Linked DNA regions of Homo sapiens: region 2 is linked to region 1. Evidence: promoter capture Hi-C in 16 types of primary human blood cells and fetal thymus (Javierre and others, 2016). All regions are on one chromosome and are shown on one strand. The core of a region is centred on a gene start or on the middle of the fragment in contact, and the rest is flanking DNA. Distances in the headings are between cores, read along the strand shown.

The links. The method cuts DNA at HindIII sites, captures the fragments that hold promoters and counts their contacts. A CHiCAGO score of 5 or more calls a contact.
Region 2: a contact is called between a fragment that was not itself captured here and the fragment with the promoter of TLCD4 in region 1, in 1 of 17 cell types (total B cells). The highest score is 6.4, in total B cells.

The regions. Positions count from the first base shown.
Region 1 is chr1:95,115,329-95,118,981 of GRCh38, reverse strand. TLCD4 (TLC domain containing 4) reads right to left here and starts at 1,627. Exons shown (of 7, transcript NM_152487.3): 1 at 1,365-1,627. It overlaps TLCD4-RWDD3 (TLCD4-RWDD3 readthrough), which reads right to left and starts at 1,059. Exons shown (of 8, transcript NM_001199691.1): 1 at 891-1,059. RefSeq lists silencers at 1,137-1,186, 1,267-1,546, 1,474-1,620 and a cis regulatory region at 2,875-3,402. The HindIII fragment of the contact is 12,433 bases long and covers 1-3,653 here.
Region 2 is chr1:95,239,433-95,243,298 of GRCh38, reverse strand. The region is part of intron 7 of TLCD4-RWDD3 (TLCD4-RWDD3 readthrough); the gene reads right to left. The region is part of intron 1 of RWDD3 (RWD domain containing 3); the gene reads right to left. Among named protein-coding and RNA genes, the nearest start is that of RWDD3, 7.2 kb to the right of the region's middle. The HindIII fragment of the contact is 5,719 bases long and covers 1-3,866 here.

The DNA.
Region 1 (3,653 bases), core at 378-2,877:
GGAGGTAATGGGACAAAAGGAGTTGCAGGCGTAGAAAAAAAAAGAAGCACCCTCAAAATATTCTCTGGGTTATCAGATGGCACAGGAGGGGCGTGGCAAATAAACTAAAATCCATGGTTCTTCACCCATTCTTTCATATTTTCTAACACGGCGGGAATACACTTTTCTAATTTCGTTTCGCCCAATTTAAGGAAAAGATAAGCAAGGATAAAAATTCCTCATATATAGCACAATTAAAAGGGAGCTGGGATTCTCTAACTTATTACCTTAATCGGCTACACAAAGATGAAGCTACATTTCAATCGACACCATGCGCTGGCACGGGAGTAACTCACTTAAAACACCACAATCCAAGGTCAATTTTTCTCAACTCCATTTATGACTGCGTAAAGATTTTATTAAATCTTTTTTCCTATTTCACACATCAATTCCTAGGGTCCACACAAACTCTTCCATCTTCTCCAAACTGGTATTTGGATTAAACATTATCCAAGATCAGTCTTTAAAGTAAATTTCATAATTTCATATAAAAGTGTGCACCACATTAACACTCAAATGTGTGTACAATTAAAAATATACAGACCAGCAACAGCGACTCTTAAATGAATTTAGACTCAAAGTGTTTTCACAGAGGTTTTTCTGCCGTCTTGGAGGGGTAGGAAACTGCTGGCATTACGAATCCCATTTCATGGCTGGGTAAACCGAGGCACTTAGGGGTTACAGAGGTAAAGATGGAAATAGAAACCAATTTCTCCCTCCGACTCTACGCCTGGTCCCTTCCCACTAGACTTTTCAGCACTCAGTGGCTAAAAATGGGACCCACTTGAGAACTGCAAGGGTAAATAAGAGCTACTTGTTTCAGAAGGTGGCGGCGGGGGAGGGGGACTTACCCACTTGATGCGCCCGATTGTGTGTGGGCTCTAACAAGAAAGCTCTCCCTGGATGCCCAAAGGTTTGCACCCACCCGCTTTAAGCTCAGACCCGAGAGGCACCGCCAGGCAGACAGGGCAGCCGGAATCGTGCAGCCCGAGAAACGCGAGAGGAATGCGGGGCGCCCGGGCGGCGCGGGGGCCGCGGGCCCCGGGACACCATTTGCTCCCGGAGCGACGCCGTGGCCCGCCGGGCGGGGACGATGCTGAGCCTTCCGCACACACCTGCCGGAGCCCGCCCGGGAGCCCCGGGCCGCCTCCCGCGCGCCGGACGCCCACCCAGCCTCCAGGCGCAGGAGCTCTCGGCCGCGCTAGGCCAGGGGCGGGAAGCCGCGGCACCCCTCTCCGCGGGCTGCGCTTGGCGGCTGGCGCGGGGGAGCCGCGGGGCGAGGCAAGCCCGCCTTCCTCCCCAACCCCCCCTCCAAACGGCGTCACCTGTGCCGGGTCCCGGGGCGAGTCGCGCGCGGGCGGCGGCTGCGCCGAGCCGGGAGAGGGCGGCGGGTGTCTACAGGAGTCTGCTCATCCGGGCCGGCCCGAGGGCTGGCGCTGGCCAGTGCCGCCCGGTGAGATGCTCACGGGAGCCAGGGAAGCCGCGGGTTCCGGGCCGCTTGGAGGTGCAGTCGCGGAGGCTCCAGCTACCGCGGCGGCCGTCGCGCCCGCCCGGACTGCGGGCTCGGGTTACCGCAGAGCTGCTCCTTAAAGGGGCCGCGGCCGCTCGGGCTCCGGCTCCCGCTCCGGGCGGCTCCGACCCTGGCCAAAGTGGGCGGGGCCCCGAGGCGGGCCGCCGAGCAGACCTTCTTGCCCTGGAACTTGGGTCCCGGAAAGAGCCCAAAAACCCTAACACCCGAAGTCGCAGCGGAGAGATCCTGGAAGCTCACACCTTGCCAAGGGCAGAGGGTGCAATTCCCGGGTTTTCCAAAGCAAGTCACAAAACTTGCCAGCGGGGGAACTGTGTGAGCCCGCCCCCGCAGCGGTCAGTACCTGGGCTAGCCACGTAACAAAAAATCTTCTTAAATTATGAATTTACATTCTGCCTTAAATGCTCAAATACTGGGGACTTCATGGTTAGATCATCAGAAAAGAGATGAAAAGGCAACTGCTGGTTTTTCTTGCCACGTCTGACACGGCCACACTCGAGTCCCGCCAGTTCTTCTTTGGGGCTGCAGGTGCATACCAAACTGGTAGGGGGCGCGTGTAGAAGAAGCGTGTTCTCTCCAGCACCACCTCCAGAATTCCTGAAAAACACCCTCATGGGTGCACCAGCACTACACCTACACCCGGAACCCCTCTGTTGTCGGGGTGTGGAAGTTGGATTTGAATATTTGGTGCTGGCTGAGAATTCCAAGTTGCCTAGTAGATAAAGTTTGACATTAAATAGATGTTCTGACCTGTTATATACAGCCCCAAAAGCCTCCAAGTGATCTGCATCAACCAGAGATAATTGTCTGAAACAAAACAAAATAACAAAGAGGTATACTCATGCATTATAATTCGCAGAGAGCAATCACAAGGCCTTTTCTTGAAAAGAGGTAAGTTCTAAATAAATAATTTGTAAACACTATCATTGATAACAGGATATTTATTTCTAAGAAATGTCAATAGAGCTAACATATTTGATCTACTATATACATGCGCAGAAAGACACACATATCTGCCGCAGATTTAGACCAGAAAATATATACACAAAAGCTCATATAAGCTGTCCATGTTTATTTTCAAGAGAGGGCAATAGAATTTAAATCAGAACCTGGAATTCTGTCAGTTTATTAGAGTTGTGTGCCTTTAGCTAACTGAACCTCACTGAGGCTCAATTTCTTCATCTTTAAAATGGTAATAATAATTCATAGTGACTCTGAAGACCTGGACTGATGTGGAAAAGACAAAATCTATACCACAGAACAGGGAGGGACAGAAACCTGCCCTGCAGTCAAGCAGAGAGAAAGATCTTTCAGGCCCCCAAATGCGTGTTCCCCTTTTTCTCCCCAAGACTCTCAGGATGTACCAGGGCTCCAGTGCTCTTTGAACCACACGGTGTCCCATCATAGTCCCTTCACAATATGTGCAGTACCTGACAACTTTGGTTTGCGCAATAGCTACCTTGTGCACTCACATAGCTATTTCATAACTCTCTGTGGGCAGGATGGTTATATGTGAACATCTGTGAAGTCAGCCCAGAAAATACCAATTTCACAGTGTCCTCTCAAGAGTCTGTATCAACACTACCTCCTACAGAAACTCTCCCATGCTAGTCTCTGGTGGCTGATAGTAGCTCTGTTCTTTCCTGATAAATGCACCATCATTATCTTTGATATGCATAATTCTCTAACACCAACAGCAGTAACCAAAGCCAGGTAAACCCACAGAAATCCACTATACTCTATGTCCCACTATATTCCTTCATATTAGGCCTCTACAAATGCCTCATGAAAACTGCAAGATTGTTTTTGAGATTGTACAGAACATATAAGTTAATATATCAAGGACAAGGCCTGAGCTATGAGAGGAATTCAGTAAATAGTAGTTGAATGTTGCAAGTTTTAAGCTAATTAAAACTCAGTGACCTTAGGAGGTAGAAGAATACATCAACTGTATTTTTTCCTGAAAAATTCAGGGTAGCTTAATCTCTTTAAAAATATCCAGTTCATGGCTGGGTGCAGTGGCTCACGCCTGTAATCCCAGCACTTTGGGAGGCTGAGGCGGGCAGATCACCTGAGGTTGAGAGTT
Region 2 (3,866 bases), core at 19-2,518, 120 kb before region 1:
ACAGCCTCAACAACTGAGACCTGAATGTATCCCCATTTTAAAGAACCTAACAGAACATTAAAATTGTTTCCTGAGCCTTCTGATTCCACATATATAAAAGCCATTGCTACAGATATTGATTCATACAGGACCAGACACATCTGTTACAGAGTTTTTCTTTCATACACTCTTCAGTACCAGCTGCAAGGAACGACTATTTTAGGACATCATCTGGAAACATAGACAGTTAACCGTTAAGAAGACCATATTAAAATGATACAATTTATATGTGTATTTCATAAGAAGAATTTTCCAAATCTAACTTTGTACATTCCTCCAAAACCCATCATGTTTCTCAAAACCCTTCTTCTTCTATCTAGTTACTTATTCTTTTTTTTTTTGAGACACAATCTCACTCTGTCGCCCAGGCTGGAGTGCAGTGGCATGATCTCGGCTCACTGCAACCTCCGCCTGCCAGGTTCAAGCAATTCTCCTGCCTCAGCCTCCCGAGTAGCTGGGATTACAGTCATATGCCACCATGCCCAGCTAATTTTTGTATTTTTAGTAGAGACAGGGTTTCTCCATGTTAGCCAGGCTGGTCTCAAACTCCTGACCTCGGGTGAACCACCCGCCTTGGCCTCCCAAAGTGCTGGGATTACAGGCATGAGCCACCGCACCCGGCCTAACTACTTACCCTTTTAAAAAAAAATACTTTATTGTTAAAGTAGGCTGCCTATGTTAAAATAGTACATTTCAATATGTAAAACAGACATTACAAATAGAACTGCAGACAACACACAACCATTTAGGCTGAATAAACTTTCTAATAATCATCTAGGGAGTTGACATTCTCTCTTCAAGAAGGAGGAGAACTTTTAAAGATCTTCAATCATTCATCATTGAACAAGCATTCACTGAACACCTACTAAGCTCAAGGCACTGTACTAGTCTCTGAGGGAAAATGACAGGTAAGACACAGATCCCATCATATTGACTCAATCCAGTGTTTCAGAACACGAGAGCAGGGATATATCCCAAGTGATCTTCCTTGACTTCTCTTCTACACCTAAACATTTCTTTATTCATAAATATGCGTACATATACATGTACATATAATTTATATAAACATAAATGTCTGTGTTGGTAGATAATTCTCCAGGGATCTGGTGTGGGAGTTCAGTCAGGGTGGTGGGAAAAACTGCAGAGGAAAAATTGTAAAGATAGTTATAGGAAATAGTCACAAACCTTCTTAGAAGGCTGGGGGGTGGTGGTGCATAGCTTCAGTAAAAGATTTGGCTGAAAGCAGCCGAATCCTCTTTACCTCGAGTTGATAGCAAAAGAGCAAATAACAAGGGAATGTGGGAGAGTTTACCTAAATAGCTTGTTTACTCATGTGGTCCTAAGAGCAACCTTTGATTATCTGTGGGTGCATGACTGCTCTCCCCTGGGGGGGGTGGGGAGGGGTGGCAATGTTAATTACCTTCTAGTGGTGTTTACTCATGACCCTTGTCATTTAATCTGTACTAAATAAATGTGAACTTCACCGGCTTATCATGGCCTACACTGCAGATTCAGGAGCAGAACCCCTTTAGCCACACTGACAAGCAAAATGTCTGTGTCAGTGTACGTCTCTCATCCATCACTAGGTCAGTGTCTGCGGGTCGGATGCCCACAATCTGGCATTTCTGAATGCCTTCTGAGCAAAGGGCATTAATATCTTTGTTCAAGGACTTTTGCATAACCGACAGCCTTGGAAGCTAGAGTTTATCCCTCCAGGTCAGGGGGCAGATTTGTTTCCTAAGCAATATAAGGTAACATATTCCTTCAGGACAAAGATTGAGCAGGATCACTAGCAGCTCCCTCATAATACCGGAGGGTTCCTAAGCTCACTGCCCCTCAGCTATAACAAAGACCCACTGAGTGCATTGTATGCACCTCAGCCTACCTCTACATCACCCCATTGAACTTGGGGGACAAGGAGAATCAATGTGAACATGAAGCTAATGCTGCCTGCTGTGCATTAAGCAGTAACTGTCCAAATCCATCTGGGTTCACTGTCTCCTTACTGGCTGAATCCATGGAAGTGTGTTAGTGACCAAGGAACTGCAGTTGTCATTGCTGCCTAGGAACTGCTGGGCCACTTGATTATACTTTTTTTTTTAATCATCTTGCTCTTTTTCACTGTTTTATCTGAGAAAGAAGTGTCTTCCTCCCTTCCACAGGAAACTCTATCACTGGTCTTGTGCTTGTTTTTTGTTTTTGTTTGCTTTTTGAGATTGAGTCTCACTCTGTCACCCATGCTAGAGTGCAGCAGGGTGATCATGGCTCACTGCAGTGTTCAGGCTGGTCTCAAACTCTTGACCTCAGGTGATCCACCCGCCTCAGCCTCCCAAAGTGCTGGGATTACAGGTGTAAGCCACCACACCTAGCCTAGGCATAAAATCTTAAAGCTGCCTTCAACTTTTTTTTTTCCCTCCTTCTTTCATACTTAGCATTCAACTGCCAAATCCCACAAGTCCTCCAGAATTTCTCTCCCTTCCACCCTCCTAATTCAGGCCTTTCTCTGGCTTCTGCAATAGTGGTCTCCTCGCCGCCTGCCTCTCCCCACACCAAATTATCCCAATACCACTCTCCCAGAATGAAATGAATTACAAATTCCTCCATGCAACGCCTAGGGCCAGCCTACCACTCTGACTTCCTCTCTCCTCACTTTTTGCTTCAACTACCCATTTTATACCATGTCCTCAGTCTTGGGTGTCCCATCTCTGCCTCTTGCTCCCATTATCTCCAAGAAGGCCCTTAACTTTCTGTCTACTAAAATTTTGTCCAGTTCCACAGTTCCTCCCTAAGTCCCACCTAATGACTTCCATGGTATTTCAAACTTATTTTATGGTATTTTCATGTCCAGAATTATTGTGGTTAAACTAAATTAACATTTTTTCCAGCACTGAAATATCTTGATTTTCTTTTTAAACAACAACCAAAATGGGGGGATACAAAAAACTTTTAAATTGTACAGTCATACAGCTCTTGGAATTGTGCTAGTAGCTTGTAATCACGGATCTCACAGGTGCAGAAATCCCTGGTACCTGTGGTAAATAATGGGCCCAAAGATGTGTACATTCTGTTTCCCAGAAGCTGTGAATACGCTCCCTCACATGGCAAGAGAGCCTCTGCAGACATGATTAAGTTAACGATTTCGAGAGGGGAGTATTATCCTGGATTACCCAGGTGAGCCCTGAATGTAATCACAAGGGTCCCTATAAGGAGGAGACAGAGATTTTACTACAAAAGAAGGCAATGTATCCGCACTGAAGCAAGATGCTATGCTGCAAACTTTGAAGAATCCTTTTCTGATCAAAACCCTGAGACCCACAGTGTTCTCCAACCTGTGCCATATAAACACCTACCGGGTCCTCTCTGGTGCAGGGAACCACAGGAAAGAAACATGTTGGTAGTCCAGGGGGAAAGTCTTGAAAAGCTACTGAGCCAGCCATGTCAGTCCTTACCAATTTTCATTTTTCTCTGTGTTATTTTCTGGTCCTAGTCAGCAAACAGAATAGCAATGGGTGAAACTCCTGACTTTCACCTTAGAAAACTGTGACCGTCATACTAGTTATATGTTCGGAAGAAAACTGCCTTAGTTCTTTTAAGAATTGGAAAGGATTAGCATTCTTCCTAATTGGTCTTGGTAAATCCCCCTGCCCACCCACACATACACTGTAGCTGCAAAATAAGATTATACAAAATGATACTGTCATCTCTACAAGAAACTGAAAAGCCCAATAACATACTCCATTCTTCTGGTATTTAATGTGGCAATAAAATTACATACTTTTAAAAACTCATTTTCTCCCAAAAACTCTAGAAGTATGTATTGTACTCTT